Linked DNA regions of Homo sapiens: regions 1, 3 and 4 are each linked to region 2. Evidence: promoter capture Hi-C in 16 types of primary human blood cells and fetal thymus (Javierre and others, 2016). All regions are on one chromosome and are shown on one strand. Each heading gives the region's core, a stretch centred on a gene start or on the middle of the fragment in contact. The rest is flanking DNA. Distances are from core to core; before and after follow the strand shown. Region 1 overlaps PRPF4 (pre-mRNA splicing tri-snRNP complex factor PRPF4). Region 2 holds the start of ALAD (aminolevulinate dehydratase). Region 3 overlaps WDR31 (WD repeat domain 31). Region 4 overlaps WDR31 (WD repeat domain 31).

What was found. The method cuts DNA at HindIII sites, captures the fragments that hold promoters and counts their contacts. A CHiCAGO score of 5 or more calls a contact.
Region 1: a contact is called between a fragment that was not itself captured here and the fragment with the promoter of ALAD in region 2, in 12 of 17 cell types (erythroblasts, megakaryocytes, M2 macrophages and 9 more). The highest score is 15.4, in erythroblasts.
Region 3: a contact is called between a fragment that was not itself captured here and the fragment with the promoter of ALAD in region 2, in 1 of 17 cell types (erythroblasts). The highest score is 5.8, in erythroblasts.
Region 4: a fragment that was not itself captured here is called in contact with the fragment with the promoter of ALAD in region 2 in 4 of 17 cell types (megakaryocytes, erythroblasts, endothelial precursors and 1 more); the score reaches 7.9 in megakaryocytes.

The regions. Positions count from the first base shown.
Region 1 is chr9:113,288,631-113,294,423 of GRCh38, reverse strand. PRPF4 (pre-mRNA splicing tri-snRNP complex factor PRPF4) reads right to left here. Exons shown (of 14, transcript NM_001244926.2): 11 at 3,836-3,958; 12 at 3,617-3,724; 13 at 3,408-3,526; 14 at 1,519-2,957. The coding sequence ends at 2,764. Among named protein-coding and RNA genes, the nearest start is that of RNF183, 12 kb to the left of the region's middle. The HindIII fragment of the contact is 726 bases long and covers 3,405-4,130 here.
Region 2 is chr9:113,397,413-113,402,928 of GRCh38, reverse strand. ALAD (aminolevulinate dehydratase) reads left to right here and starts at 1,645. Exons shown (of 12, transcript NM_000031.6): 1 at 1,645-1,717. RefSeq lists silencers at 1,334-1,693, 1,844-1,893 and an enhancer at 1,909-2,489. The HindIII fragment of the contact is 5,410 bases long and covers 1-4,309 here.
Region 3 is chr9:113,331,689-113,338,075 of GRCh38, reverse strand. It overlaps WDR31 (WD repeat domain 31), which reads left to right. Exons shown (of 11, transcript NM_001012361.4): 2 at 1,636-1,788; 3 at 6,026-6,169. The coding sequence starts at 6,054. Among named protein-coding and RNA genes, the nearest start is that of WDR31, 5.4 kb to the left of the region's middle. The HindIII fragment of the contact is 4,766 bases long and covers 3-4,768 here.
Region 4 is chr9:113,315,366-113,321,147 of GRCh38, reverse strand. It overlaps WDR31 (WD repeat domain 31), which reads left to right. Exons shown (of 11, transcript NM_001012361.4): 9 at 650-791; 10 at 2,511-2,673; 11 at 4,239-5,782. The coding sequence ends at 4,399. Among named protein-coding and RNA genes, the nearest start is that of RNF183, 15 kb to the right of the region's middle. The HindIII fragment of the contact is 3,502 bases long and covers 1,403-4,904 here.

The DNA.
Region 1 (5,793 bases), core at 2,518-5,017, 110 kb after region 2:
TTCATAAGGTCATCAATGGTCAGATGACAGTTCAAATTCAAGCTCCATCACTTGCTAGCTGGCTAAACTTGAGCAAGTGTTTTTGGAGCCTGTTTTGTCCATAAAAAGGGAATAATAAACTCAAAAGATTGTGGGGATTAAACAAGGTATCTGAATGTGCCTGGTATACCATCTAGGTAGGGACTAAGTGTTCTGTGAAACGGTGGCTGTTTATCTTGCCATTTTCACAAATGCCACACCTGGCTTTGTGCTTCTTAACCACTTTCTTACAATGATGTTTTAATTCCTGTGAAGAAATAGCCCACAAGGTATTTGTTCTGTCAAAGGCTTGGATGAAATGTTTTCACCCAACTGCTACCTCTTGGACCAACCAAAAAACAAAGAAAAACAAGTCGAAGGGAACTAATAGCAAAATTTAAACCTGAGAAACTAAAAATCTTTGTTAGCACATTATATCCAATTGCATGCTAATTCACCAGTGTTCTTCATTATTTTACACATACTACAAAGAAGAAAAAAAGTTCTTTTCATCATAATCTATGAAATAGAATTCATTAATACCTGAACAATAGTGAAGTGAGCAACAGAGGGTAGTCCTGAGAATTCAGAAGCTGAACAACTACATAGGAAATGCAACTATTTGGTTATAATTGAAATCAGATTAAAAACAGTATGTTTAGGTCAGGCACAGTGACTCATGCCTGTAATCCCAGCATTTTGGGAGGCCAAGGCAGGATTGCATGAGCCCAGAAATTTGAGACCGGCCTGGGCAACAAAGTGAAATCGTGTCTCTACCAAAAAATCAAAAAAATTAGCTAGGCATGGTGGCATCCTCCTGTGATCCCAGTTACACAGGATGAGGGGATGAGGCAGGAGAATCATTTGAGCACAGGAAGTCAAGGCTGTGGTGAGCTGTGTTCGCACTACTGCACTCCAATCTCGGCGACAAAGCGAGACCCTGTCTCAAAATGAAACAAAACAAACCAGTTGTTTGGCTATATATCACACATTCAGGGTCCACAGAATAGAGCTGACCAAAGCCATTGTCAACCTCTCTGCAACAGCAAATTAAGTTTTTTTGAGATGGAGTCTTGCTCTGTTGCCCAGGCTGTAGTACAACGGTGTGATCTTGGCTCACTGCAACCTCCGCCTCCCAGGTTCAAGCGATTACATACGTGAGCCACCGTGCCCGGCCAAGAAGCCTTTCTTTAATAACTCTCCTCTGTAGACAACCTTTTCTTCTTCCAAATTCCTATATATTTTTTTGAATTTACTGTGTAATTTGAGAGTTCAGAGGCTGTATAGTTGAGGTGAAAAGAGGTGCATGACAGACAAGTTAAGAATTGTAATTGAGTCCAGGCCTGGCTTACTGGCAGTCTGGCCCAAAATGCAAACAGCCTTCTATTTTAAAAAAAATTGTTAACAAGGTGCTAAGGAGACATAAATCAGAGTAATCCATATTTGAGATCATCCATTATATCCCAAACCAAAAAAAAGAGACCTCTATGGACCAATGGCTAGGATTCAGAAAATGCTTAACTATAGAAAATAATTCTTTATAGGGTAGTTTTGTAACAGGATTTTACCGTAGCAAATGTGGAATAAAGAAAAGGTTTAGGTTTAGGAACACCCATTAGGGTTTTTTCGTTACTTCAACATAAAGTACCCTTTAATACACGAAGTACATCCTTTAAACAGCCAAGAGAAAGGAGGTTGTACAATAGAGACGTCATGTTTGCTTTCTAAACATTTGTTTGACTCCTGACACAATGGTTTTGCTTTGGGGTAACATGAAGGTTGCCAAACTTCAAAGTAAAAAAAAAGATATTTTCTGACAAAGCAAATGTTCAGTTCAGAGTTGCCTGATGCTGTCAGCATTCCAAGCAAACTCAATAGGAAGAGGTGAAGTCTTCTTCACTGTATAACCATCGGCGTGGCTGCGGTCTACTGCTTCACATCCCATTCTCCAGGGAAAGGAAAAGTGCTCGCTATGATGCATTGTTTAACCAATGAGTGGTGAGATGTGCCTCTTTACCTGAGGGCTTCCAGACTATAGTTCAGCCACCTTGCTCTCTGGGTCATATGTAGTCCTGAAGCATGTACCATGTTATGGAAAGCCAAGTTTCAAGAATTAAAAATGCAGAGTCAGTCACAATCCTGGGTGCTGTGAGGAAGGCTATAAGGCATTCGAACAAATTTTTTTTTTTTTTGAGACAGGGTCTTGCTCTGTCACACAGGCTAGAGTGCAATGGCGCAATCTCGGCTCACTGCAACCTCTGCCTCCCAGGCTTAAGCAATCCCTCCCACCTCAGCCTCCCAAGTAGCCGGAATCACAGGCAGAAGCCACCGCGACCAGCTAATTTTAGTATTTTTTTGCAGAGACGGCATTTGCCATGTTGCCCAGGCTCGTCTTGAACTCCTGAGCTCAAGCGATCTACCCACCTCGGCCTCCCAAAGTGCTAGGATTACAGGCGTGAGCCACCACGCCCGGCCAAACAAAAGATTAATAAAAACAATGTCTACACAGTTCGTGGCAGGGCGTAAAAAGGTAATAAATTTTCAACCGTGAGAGGGGTTCCCCATCACCTAGGGATTGGGCTGCCTTCCTGGAGTGGGGGCTGACATGGAAATCCAATTCTACTGAGGGTCTATGCATGGTAATTGGCAGAAAACATGATAGAACTAAACACTTCAATTCTTCTCGTTTGAGGAAAACAGCTCCTTAGAGAGAGCTTGAGGTTCAAGTCCTTTTCCCATTGTCATCTATTCAGCCATCCACAGCTTGAAGGTCCTGTCATATGAGCAAGTGGCTATGAGCTGCCCATCGGAAGAAATATCTAGGCCCATCACTTTGCCTTCGTGGCCAGCCAGAGTCTTCAGCGGGGACCAGCCTGGGTGCGTCCAGATCTTGGCTGTGTTATCATAGGCACCAGTAAGCAAGAAGTTCCCATGGATAGCTACAGGAGAAGAGAAGGGGAATTGCTTGAGGAATTCAAGTATTCAAAAGAGAAGACAAAAGCACAAAAGTCTGCAAAAACATACTATTTTTAAAAAAACTTGTTTCTACAGACTTAAGGGAACAAATAACAGTAAGGTCTTTTGGCTCATTCCCTGACCGAGAATCTATTCAGAATAATATTAAGGACTCAGTGCTCAGAGCATCCATGGAGGAAAGAATGAAGCAAAGCACTCATGAAAGTCTGCTTTACTTCCTGCAACGAGAAGCGTGCTTTCCCACAGATCTAAGGGTATGGCAGAGGGAAGGAAATTATAATTTGCTCCTTTACCAGTAGGTCAATTTCTCTCCTGTTTTACTGCTCAGTTAAGCTAAAGCCTGGCCTGCATTCCACGGGAACACAATACTGTTTGTCTGTGTCATTTAGACGTAAAATAGGAGGAAAGCTTACGCTCAAACTTGACACCAGTCACTAAGTTCTGATGAGCAGGGATGGTGTAGACGCAACGCCGCTGTCGGAGGTCCCACACTTTGCAGGTGTTGTCACCACTGCCGGTTGCAATGTGATAGCTGTGGATTGGATGCAGTATTGAAGTTAGAAATAGAGTACTTACTGACCCAGAACCCTTTTTCGCCCCTCATTCAGTGTGTTTATTTTACCCATTGGGGGAGAAATTTATTCCATAGATTTCTTTCAGGTGGCCTTCTAAGAACATGATACAACGTCCTGTGCGTAGGTCCCAAACTCGACCAAATGCATCCAGTCCCCTGAGAAAATAATTTAGAAATGAACACTTTGAATCCAGTTCTCTGTGGAAGCAGGTATAGGTAAGAGGTGAGAGTACTGAACTGCCCCTGACTACATGGGAGAAGCCTTACCCAGTGCCAGCCAAAGAGCCATCTTGATGGAAGGCAATGTCATACACACCCATGCTATGGCCTTCCTGATGCAGGATCTCCTCTTGAGCCTCCAAATCCCATAAGCGCCATGAACGGTCATAGCTAAAACCAAATCACACTAACAATCAACCAGCTGATATTTATTCAGTTTCTACAACACATAAAGTATTCTAAGCCATTATAGCTTAAGTTATTAATGCTTCTGAAACTATTCATATAACCATATTAACAGGAAGCTCCTTTCTGACATAAACAATGACTCAACAACTAAGCTTATCTGCCTTAGGTGCTAGCTGAAAACCATGGAATCGCTGTAAACCTCTAGGGCTTTTTTTTTTTTCTTCTTTTGAGACAGAGTCTCACTCTGTTGCCCAGCCTGGAGCACAGTGGCGCAATCTTGGCTCACTGCAACCTCCACCTCCCGGGTTCAAGCCATTCTCCTGCCTCAGCCTTCTGAGTAGCTGGGACTACAGGTGTGCGCCACCATGCCCAGCTAATTTTTGTATTTTTCATAGAGATGGGGCTTCACTATGTTGGCCAGGCTGGTCTCGAACTCCTGAGCTCAGGTGATCCACCCACCGTGGTCTTCCAAAGTGCTGGGATTATAGGTGTGAGCCACCATGCCCAACCTAGTGGCTATTGTAATAACAGGATTCCCCAAGAATGGCCCAGCAAAGACTCTGTTACCTTCTTTCTTCCTCCACTGTTATATTCTTTCATTCATCAAGCATTTATACATTTACTAGGCCCTAAATTGGATGTTGGGGATACAAAAATCACTCATACACAAATAGATCAATGGAAGAGAATAGGAAGTACAGAAATAACCACACATATATGGTCAGATGATTTTCAACAAGGGTACTGAAACAATTCCAACAGAGAAAGGAAAGTCTCTTCAATACAAGGTGGTATAACTGACTATGCACATGGAAATAAAGACAAAAGAGACAAACACAATTTAAAAAACCAGGCAAAGCATATGACAGAGCACTCAAGAGCAATAATGATCAGGGTAATAAGAATGAAAATCACGGGAGATCACTACACACCTGCTAGATTGGGCAAAATGGTAAGACTGACAACACCAAATGTTAACAGGGATGTGAAGTAACCAGAACTCCGGGAATGTAAAATGGTGTAACCGCTTTGGAAAACTGGTGGGGAGTTTAGAAAAAGTTAAATATACATCTCATACCTCTACCCTATGACCCAGCAATTGTACTCATGTCCACAAAAAGCCTGGTACAAGAATATTTATAGCAGCTTCATTCTGACTGGCCCAGACCTGGAAACAGCCCAAGTGTCCATCAACAGGAGAATGGATAAACTATGGCACAGTCATAAAAATGAATAACCCCCAGCAATAAAAAGGAATTACTGATACATGCAACAACATGAATGACTCTTAACAATGTTATGCTGAAAGAAGCCTGCCACAAATGAATTCACAGTATGAATAGACATAATTAATTTGTGGTGATAGAAGTCAGATCAGCAGTTGCTTTAGAAGGGGGAGTTGGCTGGAAAAGGGCATGAGGGACCTTTCTGGGGTGATGGACTATTCTCTATATTGACAGAGGTGTCGATCACAGGAATGGTACGCGTTTGTAAAGACTGACAGCATTGTACACTTAAAATAAATCCATTCCATTGTATGTAAATTATAACTTAATGGAAAAGTTCTCTAACAGATTCTAGCCTCCCTGAACTTACAGAACCAGGAAGGGAGACTTATATACCTGTAGCATTGGACAAGAGTGAAAATCCTTGTTTTCTGGTAATTTGTAACTCTGAAATTTCAGATTAATTGTAATTTAAAGGCAAATATGGCTGGGCGCGTTACCTGTTATCTATAATCCCAGCACTTTGGGAGGCTGAGGCGGGAAGATCACCTGAGGTCAGGAGTTTAAGACCAGCCTGGCCAACATGGTGAA
Region 2 (5,516 bases), core at 396-2,895:
TAAAATTTCCCGTTCTATTTGGGTTCTTAGATGGTTCTAATTATTTTTAGTTACCAATAACCTCAGGGAAGGAATGAGTGTCAGGAAAGAAATGTCGGGCAGGGAATCTAGGAAAAAACAAATAATAATTGCCCCTATGGAGTGTGGTTATTAGCAGGCATTGCAGAGAGAGCCCAGTGTAACATGGGGCAAATTATTTAATCTAGCTGGCAATTGTTTTCCCAATCCGTAAAGTGAGAATAGTAACATCGTTGCTGTCAAGATTAGATAAATGAATGTAAAATGCATGGTACTGTCCCTGACTCTTTAATGCACAGCAAACATTATTTGCTTTCTATCCCCTTCCTTGTTGAATACAGATCAGAACTCCAGTAGCTGGAAACTAAGCAGTGTCATATTTCCCTAGCCTTACGCCGCTAGGCCCCTTAAATTTAAAATATAAAGTATACAACAGGTTTGGGGTACAGATTTTGAGAAATTTAAAAAAAAATTTTTTTTTGAGACAGAGTCTCCCTCTGTCACCCAGGCTGGAATGCAGTGGCATGATCTCAGCCCATTACAACCTCCGCCTCCCGGGTTCAAGCGATTCTCCTGCCTCAGCCTCCCGAGTAGCTGGGATTACAGGAGCCCGCCACCACGCCCGGCTAATTTTTTGTATTTTTAGTAGAGACAGGGTTTCACCATGTTGGTCAGGCTGGTCTTGAACTCCTGACCTCAAGAGATCCGCCCGCCTTGGCCTCCCAAAGTGCTGGGATTACAGGCGTGAGCCACCGAACCGGGCTGAGAAATAAAATCTGAGAATAAGTGTAATGTAACCCACTAGTGTCCTCTACATTTGAAAGTCAACTTTTCAATAATCCCTGAAGAACCACCTGAAAGGCATTGCTTCGCTAGGGCGATGATGCCCGATCGCCATTTTACTCATCCAATCCTACTGGTTTACCCAGGCCCCATAAGCCTCACCAGATCCCTCTTGCCTCTGCACATCTCCAATCTCCATAAAGACCTTTGATCGGATCTATCATTGTACCTATCATAGGTCTGATGCCCCTATCAAGACTTGGAGTTTTCCTAAACGCCCATGTCTTTCACATCACATCTCTCAACTCATAGCATTGCCGTACCCTGAGAAATAAATGAAGCTGGTACAAATTTTCTCTGAAAACTTGGAAGCCTGGCGCTGAACTCAACAACTTTAGCTTAGTCCGCAAAAATGGACTTAGCTAATACTGTGTTAGGCATAATGGTGCTGTTTTAACGGCTTTGACATCCAATTATTCTTTCACCAAGCCATTAACCAGAGCCAAGTTTGCCCTAGGCTGGGCAAAGGAATGCTGTGAAGTGAAACCTGGGCTGTAACCGCCTCCGAGGCCGGCTCACACCCAGGGACCCTCCCAAGCGGTTCCTGCGCCCCCTCGTGGCCTCCCTCCTGCAGTTCGCTGCACAAGCGCAGGGCCCGGAGCGGGGACGGGCGGGCCCTCCAGGCCCTCGACACACCCAATTGGCCAGGCCTCGTTGCGTGTGGGCGGGGCCGCGGCTGGAGCGGAGGAGCCCCCCAGAAGACCGCCTTCAGGGGGCGTGGCCTGGACTGTGGAGGGGGCGGACCGTGGGGAAGCTGCTTCCGGGTGAGCCCCCCCCGCTCTTACGCGGTCTGTGGGAGACCGGAGCGGGAGACAGCGGTGACAGGAGCAGCGGCCGGGAGCCCTTAGGGAGGCAGGTGAGCGGGGGCTGGATGCGGGGAGATAGCGGGCCTGGAGGGCGGCTCCAGGGCGAGGCGGGGACTGTGGCACCAAGAGTCCTGCGTCCCCAGATTGTGCTGTGCGCCTGAAGCCCTGGCGGTGCAGCCGTGCACGGAGTCCCGTGGAGCGTTTGTTTGGGCTGGATTATCCCGCTGCAGCCGAGGTTGGGGGCCCGGGTTCGGGGCTCCGCACCTCTTCTCTGGGGTTCACCCTCTCGGATACCGCCTGGGCAGACTCCATCGATGCAGAACCCGAGGTGCGGGTGGTGGTTGGTGGGGGGGTAGGGAGGTGAAAACAATAACAGCCGTTTTGTACTAAGCGTTGCGTGCATTGACCATTCATTTATTTTATTTATTTATTTATTTTTGAGACGGAGTTTCGCTCTTGTTGCCCAGGCTGGAGTGCAATGGCGCGATCTCAGCTCACTGCAACCTCCGCCTCCCGGGTTCAAGCGATTCTCCTGCCTCAGCCTGCCAACTAGCTGGGATTACAGGCGTGTGCCACCACGCCTGCTAATTTTTGTATTTTTAGTAGAGATGGGGTTTCTCCCTGTTGGTCAGGCTAGTCTCGAACTCCCGAGCTCAGGTGATTCGCCCACCTCGGCCTCCCAAAGTGCTGGGATTACAGGCGTGAGCCACCACGCCCGGCCTGACCCATTCATTTCTTACAACAACCCATTGAGGTCGGTTCTAGTCCCCATTTACTAAACGAAGAAACTGAGGTCACACAACTAGAAAGCTACAGAACTAGGATTTGTACCCACATCTATCAGACTCCAGAGCCCACATACTTAACCATCCTGCTACCAACAGCAGCCAGGCCCAGAGTCTGGCTCACCCAAAGCTCTCCACAAGCCCAACCTGCTGGGAAACAGATTTGATATCTATCCTTAAAGTATGGAGGTGTCATGGTGGGCACTGAGGACTGGGCTGCTGGAGACCTTCCCCCAGATCTGCCGCTGACCCACTGCGTGATCCTGGGCCTGTGTCTACCCCTCTCTGAGCCCAGTTTCACCCTTGTTTCAGTGATACAATCAGCAAACTTTAAGAAGACTCTTAGCCAAGATATTCTAGGATTCTGGGAATGGCAGCTTCTCCTACGTCTAAATGGCTAACCCCAGAGGCGATCAGGCTCTTCAAAGCCCCAGGGCAAGGCTGGGGTCTCATTCTTCTCTTTAATCCCTGTGTCTAGCACTTCAGCAGGCCCATAGTAGATATTCAAGAAATGTGGGTTGGCTGAATAAACACTTCATCTCTTTTCAGAACTGCATGACAGCTGCTCTCCTGGGCCTTTGTGGGGCTTTGGATTTCTCAGTTCTGGCCACCTTCTATCTAGCTGGCTCTCCTGACTGCCTCCTCCCTGGCCAGTGGCAGAGCCTGCCAGGGCTGGCAGCAGGTCCTAAGCCTCTGTGCGAAGACCCACAGCCTCTGGAATCCTCAGCATAGTACAACTTGCAGGGGTGGGGGGTGGCACATGAAGCTCATAGCCCCTCCTGGTAGCAGTGCTCAGGGCCCAACTTCAGTTACTCCCAGTTTGGGGATGTTGCCTTCCATGGGAGGAGATACTTTCATATTAAATCTGAAACACTTCTTATCCTTCACTGTCCCCTCTTCCATGAAACCACCCTTGACTCAGAGACACAGTCCCTCTGACAGCACCTGGTCCACCCCTCTACTCTGGCAGCCCGGTGGTGATTATTTTGTTTTTCCTCCACCACATAACCTGCTGGAAGGCAGGGACTCCACTTCAGAAATCTTGGAAAACCCTGTGGCCCACAAGGGTTTGAGCTCATATTCCCATCTGGTGAGGTGCAGAAGGCACAGAGCTGTGCCAGGACATCTCGTTCCAACCCAGCCCCACTCCTAATAGTAATAAAAGTAGCTACATGTTTACTGTGCAGCTACTTGGTGCCAGACACCTACCTTATCCCTATCAATAATCTCCACAGCCTTGCAAGTTAGAGATATCATGCCTATTTTGTAGATTATGAAATGAACACTGAAAGGTCAATTACTTTGCCCAAAATTACACAGCAGAGCATAGACCAAACCTGGGACTGTCTGACCCTGAAACATGGATCTTTCTGCACCGCCCTATACTCTGCGTCCCAGCAAAGCTAACCTGTCTGATGTGGTTGGGCAGAGGTGCTGGACCTCCTGGCGGCTCGCTCCTGTCTTCAGTGTGGTAATGTCACAGGCATTTAAATTGTGGTTTGCAAGCTCGCTTGATTTGGGAGAAGTGCCCTCCCAGTCTGTGAAATTCTCCCAAACTCTAAGGGCCTTTTTGCAAAGCAAAACCCACCCTGCATTTGGCTCTGCCAATATGTGATTCAGGGGGTGTTTTCCCACTCACAGAATGGAGTGGGAAACTCCACTTATTAAGTACCTCTTACAATGGAATGACTCTATGGTGTAGGTATCAGGGCACTGAAATAGAAGCCAGGAGCTGCAGGGTCAGTTTATAGCTCTGTATGTCACTCACTGTGATCTCCAAAAGTCCCGTTGCCTCTTTATACCCCATTTTCCACATTAAAGTGTAAGGGATTAAACAGGATTGGCAATTTTCAAGCTTTTAATATTTTCAGCACTGACAGCCGTTTCTCAAATCAAATCTGTCTCTGAATCTTAAAATTCAAAAACAGATCAAAGTGGACTGCTGTAGTGAGACTGTTCCCTTTACTCTAACCCTGCCCCGGTCTCAGGCTCCTAGGCAGTCCTGCCCCAGGGTTTCTGCTAAGCAGGAGCCAGTTGTTCCCTCAGCCTCCTAAAAGCGATGGGGAGTTGAGGCCAGTGGAATGCAGCTTTGGATTCAGAAGCCAGAAAACAACAGAGATTGTTTGTGGGAAGTGAGTCAGAGAGATTAGACCTCTCTTCAACATCTGACTAGACTCTAGAATGGCATTAAGCAAGTCACTGAACCGCTCAGAGCCTCTGTTTCCTTATCACTAAAAGTTAGGACAATTCTTGCAATGAAATGAGATACTACTACCAAGTACTTCAGTGCTGTGCCCAGCACAGAACGAATACACTCAGTATGTTTTTCTTTTGTTTCTTCTGTCTCTCCAGCACCCAAAGCAGAAACAGTATGGGCAGAGAGACGCCTACTGAATCAGGTGTTTATCAGTATTATGAAATACAGTATATAAAACCCAGCATTTGGAGTCCAGAACAAATTCAAATTCTGGCTCAGTCACTAAGTAGCTATGTGGTCTTGGGCAACTGGCTTACATTTTGGTAATTCTCTCAATATGCAAAAATATTCTCTCGGCCAGGTGCGGTGGCTCACGCCTGTAATCCCAGCACTTTGGGAGGCAGAGGCGGGCGGATCACTTGAAGTCAGGAGTTTGAGACCAGCCTGGCCAACATGGCGAAACCCTGTCTCTACTAAAAATACAAAAATTAGCCAAGCATGGTCATGCATGCCTGTAGTCCCATCTATTTGGGAGGCTGAGGCAGGAGAATCACTTGAACCCAGGAGGTGGAGGTTGCAGTGAGCCGAGATCGAACCACTGCACTCCAGCTTGGGTGACAGAGCCAGACTCTGTCTCAAAAAAAAAAAAAAAAAAAAAAGAAAAGGAAAAAAAACTCCTGGCAGACATGAGAGCAAAATCGAGTACGAAATGGGCAGCTGGGACCTCATATCTACTGAATAATTGTCTGTTTGGAGGTTGAGACATGACTGGGGAGGCCTGGCCTGCCCCTGTGTTAGGTGATGGGGCTGGCCCACCCAGGGGTGTGGCAGCAGGGCTGGCCCCTGTGTGACTTGTGATAACCCCAC
Region 3 (6,387 bases), core at 1,136-3,635, 66 kb after region 2:
CTTTATATGCACCAGCTTTTGTAGAGATGCAGTATAATATGCTGGTCAAGAACAGGGCCTCTGGAGTTGGACTGCCTGGATTCAAGTTTCAGCTCTGCCACTTATTTGCAGTATAAACTTGAGCAAACTATTTGATATCTCTGTGCCTCACTTTTCACATCTGCAAAATGGCCATACAGGTTGAGTATCCCTTATCTGAAATGTTTGGGACCAGAAGTGTTTCAAATTTCAGATTTTAGAATATTTGCATTATATACTTAAGGGTTGAGCATCCCTAATGGAAAACCTGAAATCCAAAATGCTCCGATGTGGCTGGGCACGGTGGCTCATGCCTGTAATCCCAGCACTTTGGGAAGCCTAGGTGGACAGATCACTTGAAGTCAGGAGTTTGAGACCAGCCTGGCCAACATGGTGAAACCCCATCTCTACTAAAAATACAAAACTTAGCTGGGCATGGAGGCACACACCTGTAATCGCAGCTACTCAGGAGGCTGAGGCAGGAGAATTGCTTGAACCTGGGAGGTGGAGGTTGCAGTGAGCCCAGGTTGCACCACTGCACTCCAGTCTGGGCAATATAGTAAGATTCTGTCTAAAAAAAAAAAAAAAAAAAATCCAAAATGCTCCAATGAATATTTCCTTCGAATGTCATGTCAGTGCTCAAAAAGTTTTAGATTTTGGATCATTTTGGATTTTGGATTTTTGGATTAGATGCTCAACCTGTAGTAACAGTATCTCAGAGGCTTGTGGAATAGATAAAATGAGTTAATAAATATAAAACATAGAGCAGTTCCTGGTACCTTTTAAGTGCTATTTTTAATCTTCACAGAAGTCAATGATAGAGTTATTATCCTATTTTACACATAGGAAAGTGAGACTTAGAGAGGTTCAGCAACTTGCCCAAGGCCACAGTTGAGCTATAATTCACAACTAGTCCTATCTAATGCAGACACTAATGCATTTAATGAAATGTTGTTCTGACTATTCTGTGCTGCCCTTAATTCTCAGAATAAGCTGCACTGTCAATCAATATTTAGAATTTAATTGAATTCTTAAAATTGAGTTATTAAAATGCAATAAAGCTGTTTATTCTTTGTAGACATTTATAATGGAAATTCTGGACTAGAAGTCAAGAGATTTACTTAGTTATAATTTTGAGCAAATAATATTTCTATCCTTATTCTGCAGATCTTTCAATAAATGGTCTTAGTTATAATTTTGAGCAAATAATATTTCTACCCTTACTCTGCAGATCTTGAAATAAATAAATGGTTTATATATGGTGATTTTGAAAAGCTCTCCCATCTCAAATTCTAGGAGAATTATTTAAAACAGGAGAAATTGCCTTTTTCACAAAAGCAGTAAACTCTGAAATAAGCAGTCAACTCAAGATTTTTGATGAATAGAAGTACTATGTTATGAGCAAAATCAAAATGTTTAACAATGTATTTAAATATATTTTGCATATTTAAAAATAGATATATAATTAACACTATAGTATACTTTCCTGAATTGTGGAAATGTGAGAGAGATAATCTTGGAATTTTGTAAAATATTTCTTTCTTTGTGAGGGAAAACTACACCTAACCATCTCTTTAATAAACAAGGTCTTTATTTACCTTGTAAATCTCTTTTCAGTGCAAACATGCTTAGACAGAGAAGAGATTAACTTCAGTGGCTTCCCACTAATTACAGAGATTAAGAAGTGGCTGCCTGAACTATTTTCCAAAGGATACACATTACAAATTATTGAATAGGGCAGCTAACCAAGAAGATCCTATTGGTTTGGGGGTAAGTAATTCTAAAAGTTATCTTTTCCTTAGAATGTCCCATGAATATGGTTTACTTGGGAAGTATGGCTCTCTGACTATACCAATCAGTTTTGAGCAGAGCTAATCCATTTATAGCATCTGCAATTTCCAGTGACCTAGATCTATGAATGGCATCTGTCATTGGTTTGATGACAATGTTGAAAAATAGGTTAGGCTGGCAGATAAGAAGCCCTGCACCCTCTATCTGTAAACAATACCACATCCCAAACTTTTTGAAAACTATCCTGAATTTTGCCTCTCAGCACATCTTGTGGCCTCTTATAGAAAATCCTGGAATATCTGAAGTGGAAGGGACCTTAGATTTGCCACTTCACAAGTATTTTTGTTGTACAGTACTGTGCAAGCCACTTGGGGTACAAAGATGAATAACGAGAGACCTTCTCTCATTATACACATAGTCTACTAAAAATCATTTCGTATAGTGTCCTAATTTTCTAGCTGGGGAGGCTGAGGCCAGAGTGGGGAATGGAGCTACTCAAGGACACATAATGGGATGAGGCAGGGCTGGGGTAGATCCTAGGCCTCTTGATGCCACTCACATTGTTTCCATTGCATTGTGCTTTTCTGTATTGGTTACCTATTCTCGTCAGGAAGTCAATTCTAGCAACTTCTCAAAATGTAGGCTGAAATTCTTCTGGAAAACTCCATTTTTTTAATGCTAATGGTATGAATGAGAATATTAAGTTGGTGCGTTTTAGCTGCTGTTCTCTTCTGTAAACAGTTCTTCCTGTAGACAGTTCTTCCTAGAATTAGGTTGGTCATGCCCATAAGAAACTTATTTCCTAGAACTTTTAGGCAGAACCTCAGAAGAAATGGGGACTGGGTGCTCCCACTGCCCCCCATACTTCCCTCAGCTATCTGATATCACAGCCAGTCGCAGGGGACACATGACATGGAGTAGTTGAGACTGGTCCTTCGTTAGGTTCCTTCGGTCCCAGCAAATGTTCATGCTGGTCACATCTTCAGGTTTCTCTTTTTTTCAGTTTCACCAGCAACTGGTATAGGACCTACACAAATAAGGTGCTTAGGAGGTGTTCCCTGAATGAGTGGAGGAGCACCTTTGAATGCATAATTCATTCTCTTTCTTTTCAGTTCTAGCCTCGTTAGTTGAGGGGGATGATACAAGTAAATCTGGAAAATGTTTCATTATTCTTTTAATTCTAATATATAATCCAATATTAACATTATTTAAATTCTAAGTCACTGGCTCTCAAACTTTTTGGTCTCAGAACTTCTTTTCACTCCTCAAAATTAAGAACCCCCAAAGAGGTTTTGTTTATGTAGGTTATAGATTGAGTTCGAATCCTGCTCTGCTACCATCATTTGACATTAAAACTGAGATTGAATGCCACATGCAGGGTTTGTTAAATTTAAAAATAAATAAATGAGGCCAGGTGCGGTGGCTCATGCCTGTAATCCTAGCACTTTGGGAAGTCAAGGTGGGTGGATCACCTGAGGTCAGGGGTTTGAGACTAGCCTTGCCAAAAAATGGTGAAACCCTGTCTCTACTAAAAATACAAAAAAAAAAAAAAAAAAAAAAAAAGCCTGATGTAGTGGCGCATGCCTGTAGTCCCAGCTACTCTGGAGGCTGAGACAGGAGAATCGCTTGAACCCAGGAGACGGAGGTTGCAGTGGGCTGAGATCACGCCATTGCACTCCAGCCTGGGTGACAAGAGTGAAACTCCGTCTCAAAAAAATAAAATAAATAAGTAAATTAATTAATTAATTTTAAAAAACAAATTTTAAAGACATTTACTTATTAATTTTGAAATAGCAATAAACCTATTGCATATTAACATAAAACATCATTTTATGAAAAATAAATATACTTTCCAAAACCAAAATATTTAATTGGAAGAAGTGGTATTGCTTTATGTTTTTGCAAATTTCTAATGTTTGCCTTAAAAAGGAGACAATTGGACTCTGATATCTGCTTCTGCATTCAGTCTATTATAATCTATTGTTTATGTTGAGGTATTAAAAGAAAAGAAGGCCCCACTTTGGGAGGCCAAGGCACGTGGATTGCTTGAGCCCAGGAGTTGGCGAAACCCCGTCTCTACAAAAAACACAGAAAAATTAGCTGGGCATGATGGTGCAAGCCTGTAGTCCCAGCTCCCTGGGAGGCTGAAGTGGGAGGATCACCTAAGCCTAGGAGGTTGAGGGTACAGTGAGATCACACCACTGCACTCCAGCCTGGGTGATAGAGTGAGACCCTGTCTCAAAAAAAAAGAAAGGAGAAGGAGAAGGAAAAAGAAAGAAAGAAGAAGGAGAAGGAGGAGAAGGAAGAAGGAAGAAGGAGGAGAGAAAAGGAGAGGAAGGAAGGGAGGGAGGGAGCGAAGGGCCTCACTGAGAGATGTGGTTGGAAAACAGAAGTCCTCCCAAACTCCCTGAAAGGCTCTCAGGAATCCCCCATGTTCCATGGATCACACTTTAAGAACTGCTAGTCTAGGTCATTACCTACATTGTCTCATTTAGTGGCATTATTTCTAGCATCTCAGAACATCTATTTCATGATTCTGGCACACTGAGAGGTGCCATAGTGAAATTATTAAAAAAAAAAAAATCCGGCCGGGCGCGGTGGCTCACGCCTGTAATCCCAGCACTTTGGGAGGCCGAGGCGGGTGGATCATGAGGTCAGGAGATCGAGACCATCCTGGCTAACAAGGTGAAACCCCGTCTCTACTAAAAATACAAAAAATTAGCCGGGCGCGGTGGCGGGCGCCTGTAGTCCCAGCTACTGGGGAGGCTGAGGCAGGAGAATGGCGTGAACCTGGGAGGCGGAGCTTGCAGTGAGCCGAGATTGCGCCACTGCAGTCCGCAGTCCGGCCTGGGCGACAGAGCGAGACTCCGTCTCAAAAAAAAAAAAAAAAAAAAAATCCAACAACCAAGGAAGGTTATAACCTTTTAGAATAACTGAGGCTTTTCTTTTTCAAGAAGCTTCAGTAGTGTAAATTATTTTTTATTTTTGATTACATCTTCTTAGTATTTATTTTATTGTGGCAGAGTGCACATAACATAAAATTTATGATTAGTGACATTTAGTATATAGAGACATTGTTGTGCAACCATCATCACTATCTAGTTCTAGAACATTTTCATCACTCCAAAAGGAAACTCTGCCTCTTTGTTTGTTTGTGTTGCTATAAAAAAATAACTGAGGCTAAGTAGTTTATAAAGAAAAGCAGTTTATTTGGCTCATGGTTCTGCAGGCTGTATGAAAAGTGTGACGCAGGCTTCTGTTTCTGGTGAGGGCTCAGGAAGCTTCCACCGTGGCAGTAGGCAAAGGAGAGCAGGCATCCCTTGGCAAGAGAGGAAGGAACCAGGTGAGGAGGGAGGTGCCAGGCTTTTTTAAAACAATTCGTTCTTGTGGGAACTAATAGAGTGAGAACTCACTAATTACCAGGGAGATGTCACCAAGTATTCATGAGGGATCTGGTCACATGACCGAAACACCTCCAACTAAGCCCTACCTCCAACATTGGGGATCAAATTTCAACATGAGATTTGGAGGGGACACATATCCAAACTATATCTAGCCTATTAAGATACTCTGTATTACATTCTATCTGTATCTATTAAGTAGTCACTCCCCAGTCTCTTCCTTATTCCAGCTCTTGCCAACCACTAATCTGCTTTTTGTCTCTATAGATTTGCCAACTATGGATATTTCGCATACATAGAATATGAACTGTGTAGCCTTTCATGTCTGGCTTCTTTTGCTTAGCATGATGTTCTCAAGATTCACCCATGTTGTAGTATGTACGAGTACTTCATTCCTTTTAATGGCCGAGTAATATTTCATTGTGTGGATTGACCACATGATGTTTCTCCACTCATCTGTTGATGAATATTTGAGTTGTTTTCACTTTTTGGCTGCTGTGAACAGTGCTGCTGTGAACATTTGTGCACAAATTTTTGTTTGAACATCTGTTTCTGTGTTTTTGGCCTTAAACCCAGGATTAGAATGGCTGGACCGTATGGCAATTCTGTGTTTTACTTATTACAGGACTTCTTAGTCTTTTTTAAAATCAGTTTTGTTTTTGTGTGTCTGCAACCTCAGGGCTGTAAGTGTGAAGCAGGGTGAGGAGGAAAAGCAAAAGCATACAATTAATTAGTCTAAAAAAGGATTTATTTTCAACATCATACTATTGTGCCTAACAAAATTAACAACATGTATTCTTCTTTTTATTAAACAGGGAACACAACTTCCAGCAGCCACAAGGGATGCTGCTACTCAGGTGCCAACTGAAACAAGCTCCTCCACAGAAGGTTTCGTTTAGGTTTTGTGTCGTGATGGGGAAACAGCAAAGCAAACTCAAACACAGCACTTATAAATACGGGTACTGCAATCCTCCCCTGGGAGCCCAGGTTTTATCATGCCCCATTAAAACTCTCCACTGAAGAAAGAGAAGGCCCAGGGCGAATGTTGATGGCCTTCCCTGAATAGTTGGCCTTCCCTGAATAGTTTAGTGTGTTTTCTTTTGGATAAGAAACAGTCAGGGCTGGGTGTGCTGTCTCACACCTGTAATCCCAGCGCTTTGGAAGCCCGAGGGGGACA
Region 4 (5,782 bases), core at 1,904-4,403, 83 kb after region 2:
TCAGTCACCCAGCCTTCAGCTGAAGCCCTCCCTGGGGAAGCAGGGTTGAAATCAGCATCAGGGGAGTCAGTAAAGCCAATAGTTCTTAGACCGGAGAGGATAACTAGAAACTTTGGATCTCAGAAGAGATTCTCCTTAGAAAATGGTAGGAATGGGGTAAAGAGGTAAAAATGAAATAAGAAGCAAAACAAAACACTCCCCAGTGGACCCCATAGCCAAGGCTGGCCATGACCTGTATGTAAATCTTTTGTAACTAATTCTGAATGATGACTGATTTCCCATATCATAATAAGTATCTTTTTAAAAATTTAAGTCACAGGCACAGAAATATCCTTTTGTCCACGGAAAGCAGTGTCTCAAAGGACCAAATTAACAAATTAACTTGTACAATTAAGATGCTTGGTCTCAATTTCTATTAACTGATCTCAAAATAGAAAGAACTCAGATGTCATTCAATTTGGTTACTTCCTGCCAACTTTAGAGTCTCAGAGATTGATCTGGTTCATGCTGCCGTTTTTAGGTAAATCATGCCATTCCAATCTGACTGGCCTATGCAGCAAAGAGCCAAGACTTTTTTGGTAGTGGGACAATACGGGTGTATTTCAGCCACATTTACTACAAGCTAATTTCCTGCCCTAATCTCTTTCAGATTATGGGACAGTCGGGGGCTGCAGGTAGCTCATATGTTTCCTGCAAAGCAGCACATTCAGACCTACTGTGAAGTCAGTGTGGATGGACACAAGTGTATCTCCTGCAGCAATGGCTTTGGAGGAGAAGGCTGTGAAGCCACGGTAGGAGACTGTGTGAGGTCCAGGTATCTGGTTGCTGATGAACAGATCACTTACTCTGGCCTCATGCCTGTAGCTGTGCTACACAGGCGGGCTTTGCTAATGGCTCAGGCCTCTTTCAAAAGCATACTGTGAGTGATCCTTTGCATTCCAGTTGCTTCATTTAAGAAACATTCATAGGGGAGGCCAAGGCGGGAGGATTAATTGAGCCCAGGAGTTTGAGACTAGCTTGGGCAACAGAGCAAGACCCTGTCTCTATAAAAAAATAAAAAGTTAGCTGGGCATGGTGGCATGTGCCTGTAGTCCAAGCTATTCAGAGGCTGAGGTGGGAGGATCAACTGAGCCTAGGAGTTTGAGGCCAGCCTGGGCAACAAGGGAGACCCCATCTCAAAAAAATAAAGAAAGAAAATAAAAGAAACATTCATCAACTTAGGGCTCTCTGAATTGGTAGTAGGAAAGAGGAATGGGATGAGAGTCAAGATGGGGAGGAGCTAAACACAGAACCAGCCTGCTGATGTCTCTACTCCCAGCAGAGCTTAGAGAGGGGAGGGACTGTTTGAAGAACCAGATTTATTCCCATTATAGGCGTGGCCACAGTAAAAGAAGCTCAAGCTTTTTAGGAAATTTGGAGCTCTAGTGTTGGTCCAGGGCCTACTCCATCCCTTACTCATGTACCTTCCTTACATTTAATTTTGGAATAGATTGCCTAGGCTCCTCCAAAGCACCTTAGATTCATAATTGTAGAATATCCATTAAAAGGGTTATCTAGTATTCAAACAGAACAATTATGCCTCCTATTTTATTGAACATTTCTTGTGTGCTGGGCACTGGGATGAGCACATTACATGTAATATCTCATTTAATCCTTAAAAACAACCCCATGAGTTAGGTACTATTATAATTCCCATTTCACAGACAAGGAAATAGAGGCATGGCAAGTTGACATCTCTTGCACAAGACCACATCCCTAGTAAATGGTAGATTGGGGTGTTGCAGCCTTTGAATGTAGCATCTCTTTTCTAAGTGAAACATTTCCAGCTCCTACAGCTATTCCCTGGATAACATGCTGTCCAATAACTTCATTATCTTTTTGGACATAATTCAATTTGCTCTCCTCCCTGAACATTATTCTCCAGCTGTGATCTGATCTGTATCAATGAGAGTGGGACTGGCAGCACTGACTGGCACTTCCCTCTTGTAGACGCTAGTCTTCACACATCAAGGTTCAGCATCTAGGCATTAAATCAGAATGTCTGCACCTAGATGTACTTATATCTATGGGGTACTTCTAACTACGGGGTCCCCACAGGGCCCACAGATGCCAAGAGGTTGAAATAAGGCAGCTCTTGAGTTGCCATGAAAGCAAACAACCCCATACTGTTGTTTGGGGCTCCCCATGGGTTCCCCATGATGGAACACCATCATGCTGTAGGACTGGGAGCTTTTACTTCCCTAACCACTAAAAAGGCAAAAACTCATATGACACATTCTTAACCAGGGTTGTTTGAGACATAGTTGAGGCTTAAAATAATCACTGGATGGATGGGTCATTGGGTCTGTGGATGGATGGGTTGTTGGGTCTGTGGATGGATGAAGATAAGGGGTAGCTACGTGAGCAGGTAAGTGGAGGGAATAGGTGCATCATGGGGGTAGGGGGAGATAGATATTCATGGATGAAGCTAGACAAGTGACTATGAGCTGGTCCATGTCATTACTTTGCAGTTGTGGGACCTAAGACAGACTCGAAACAGAATATGTGAGTATAAGGGGCATTTCCAGACTGTCGCATCCTGCGTCTTTCTACCAAGAGCATTGGCCTTGATGCCTTTAATTGCTACCTCATCACATGATTGCAAGGTGAAGATTTGGAACCAAGATACTGGAGGTAAGCAGCCTGCTGTTAGTTCTCCTCAAAAGATACATGAAGTCCTAAAACCTTCTTTAAAACTCCTTCTTCCCATTGCTCAGCATTACAAAGCCACCCATCTTCTGCCACTGTCCAGTCTCATGCTTAAGAGGTGATGTCAAGATGCTATCCCCTGTATCCCCTGGTACCATGTTGTATAGACTCATTCCTGAGAACTCACGTAGATTTGGCTCTTACATTCTTTCTACCTGAAGTTCTTCATCAGATTCTAACTTGTGACACTCAAAATATTTGGAAAAGAGAACAAGAATTGTGACTTTTCAAGTCTTCTTTCAAGGACTAAAATGAAAGCCCCAGCTCTTGGTGAGGGTAAGGGGGAGTAAGGATACTTTCAGAAAGTCTCTGCCCTGTTTTGATTCTGTAGCTGAAGTTTAAGAACACAGTAAGCTCATAACATTTCAAAGCATCAGAGAAAAAAGATGTCTTATGCAACCCAGCTCCCCAGAGTCCTGGATCTGCTGGATGGAGCCAGCCCCTGCTGGCCGATTGTTAAATATTCAGGATTTTTTGTGAACTGGTTTTTAAACCTTTGGTAGCCTGAAATCTGATCATGATGGAGGTATTTACATGATGAAAATTAACAAGTGCTATGAATCGGTGGTGGTGGTGTTTTCTCTTCCAGAAAGCTGGTTTACCAGCACCCCACTGCCTCCATCTATTCTGTCCTGGACACAGGGTTCTGCCACAGACAGAAACAGCATTGCCTTAAAGAACTTTAAACCAAATCTGTCCTACAACAGTCTTCTAGAACTCAGCTCCTCTCAAGGGAGACAGGGTAGTTCCCTCAGAGAATAGAGGCAGGACCATGTCTTGTGGGCATTCTGCAAACAGCTGTGGCCACAAGCCAAACTTCCATAGTAAGGACAGCCTGCTGTACTGTTACCTGGAGTGGCTTCTCCAGCCACTCAGGTGTAACTGTTGCTTGAGGAAAAAGAGCAGATGTTTTAGACTTAATGATCATAAATCTGACCAGGGAGAACGAGATCTGGAAATGTTGACCTGACCAAGTGGCACAGATTCCCTGCCCACCAGGTATGCGCCTGTAGTTTTTAGAAGAGTGGCCTCTAAGATGCAGATGGAGGGAGATGGGTCAGCTGAAACCCCCAAAGACTGCCTTTCGGGCTCTCCCATTATCCTCCATCTCCAAGGCATCAAGACCCCAGGAAGCCAGCAGCTAAAGATCAGTATCCTTGTGTGTTTTTCCCTGCCTGGGCCCTGCTTTATTCTCTGGGCAGGTGACTGAGGGCACCTTTGTAACATGTCTTTAGCCGGTGAGACCCCGACACTTCTTGGTGATGGTATGCATCCTGTTTGGCCCGTGTGCCATTCTCTACCATTGAAGTCATGGAGTTGGCCCAAGTTCTGACCTCCCTGGTATGCTTTCCTCTGAAGAAGTGGGGTCTCTCTCATACGGGTTAGATATGTACAGCAAATGCTTTATTTCCTTGCATTTCTCATGAAGACATCACATTTCATGATGCTACACTCTTGGCCTAATCTGCTGGTCCCCCTTTCCCCCCCAGCCTGCCTTTTCACCTTGTCTCTGGATGGATCAGGACCCTTGACTTCTCTGGCTGTTGGTGACGCCATCTCCTTATTGTGTGCAAGTTTTAACAGAGGAATTCACTTACTCAGAATGGACCACAGCCAAGGGCTGGAACTGCAGGAAGTGGCAGCATTCTGAGGCCAAGAGACACTCACTGGACAATATCAAACCATGGCTCCTCCTCAGCATGGCTTTGTGTCTTTCCCAGTTATCTTGAGGGGAGTGGGATGTAGGGCTGGTATTCTTTGCTTAGGTTCATTTACAAGATGTATCAGTGTTGTAAGTCCAATAATTTAAGTCCAGTGATTCAAAATCAGGTATAGAGTCCAGAAACATGGACTACACATAAGGTTCTCTATTTAAGTTAAATACAAATGCAACTTTTTAGTGAGCTTTTAGGACTACTCTTCAAAAAAAGTGTATTGCTCAGAATGATGACCTGTAAATGTAAGAGTGGCAGGCCTCTGTCTGTGAAAGTCAGAACACAGGGCTCGAGCCTCTGGAACTGACCCTTTGCAAGTCTTTACAAAAGAAAAAAGGCAGTGGGGAGAGAGAGTGTTTTGGTTACATCAGAAATAATTGAGATGGGAAAGAATAGTGCAGCTCCATAGAGGAGACGGACTGTAGACAATGAGATTAAGCTTCAATCACTGCTCCTCAGCAATGTGAAGAATCAAAGTCAGGGCAAGAAAGCGAAAGCTTGGACTTCTATTCAAAGTGGCAGCAGAGTGGGAGGGCGGTACCCTTCTAGCCCAGTGCTGCTGAGCTTGTGTGAAAATCAGACCTGAGATGGCTTGAAGCAGCCAAGAACCACATGGGCATTGCCCAGAATTACAGGAGTTAGCACACCAGCTCTACAGATAAGAAAACATTGAAATTCAAAGATTAAGGCCAAAAATATCTCACTTGCAATTTTAATATTTTCATTTGGATTTATATAAATGAAACATATATATGTTTTGGAATGGCCAGAGTGAGGCAAAGGGGATCCCTGAAATAACATTAGAACATACAGGAAAAACGAGGCAGGCAGATCACTTTAGGTCAGGAGTTCAAGACCAGCCTGTACGTGCGTGCCTGTAGTCCCAGCTACTCGGGAGGCTGAGATGGGAGAATCACTTGAACCTGGGAGGCAGAGTTTGCAGTGAGCTGAGATTGTGCCACTGCACTCCAGTCTGTGTGACAGAATGAGACCTTGTCTTGAAAAAAAAAAAAACAAAAAACCACATACAGGAAAAAAGAGAGGGATGGAGTCAACTGTGCCCCAGACATTAAGCCCCCTTCAGTGAGGAGGGGCAAGGTGCTCAGGCCTGCCTGTGTGGCCCCCAGGAGTCAGACCTCAGCCTCATGCTCACTGGTCCATTTTCCTCCAGGGAAAATGGAGTTCTTTCTGCCTTCAGAGATGCCCACACATAAGGCACATGAGGCTGTTGGTGACACCATCACCAACACTGGAGATTCCCTTTCTGACAAGTCCCAGCCAAAGAAAGATTTTGCATTTGTCTTCTCTGTCCTCTGCTT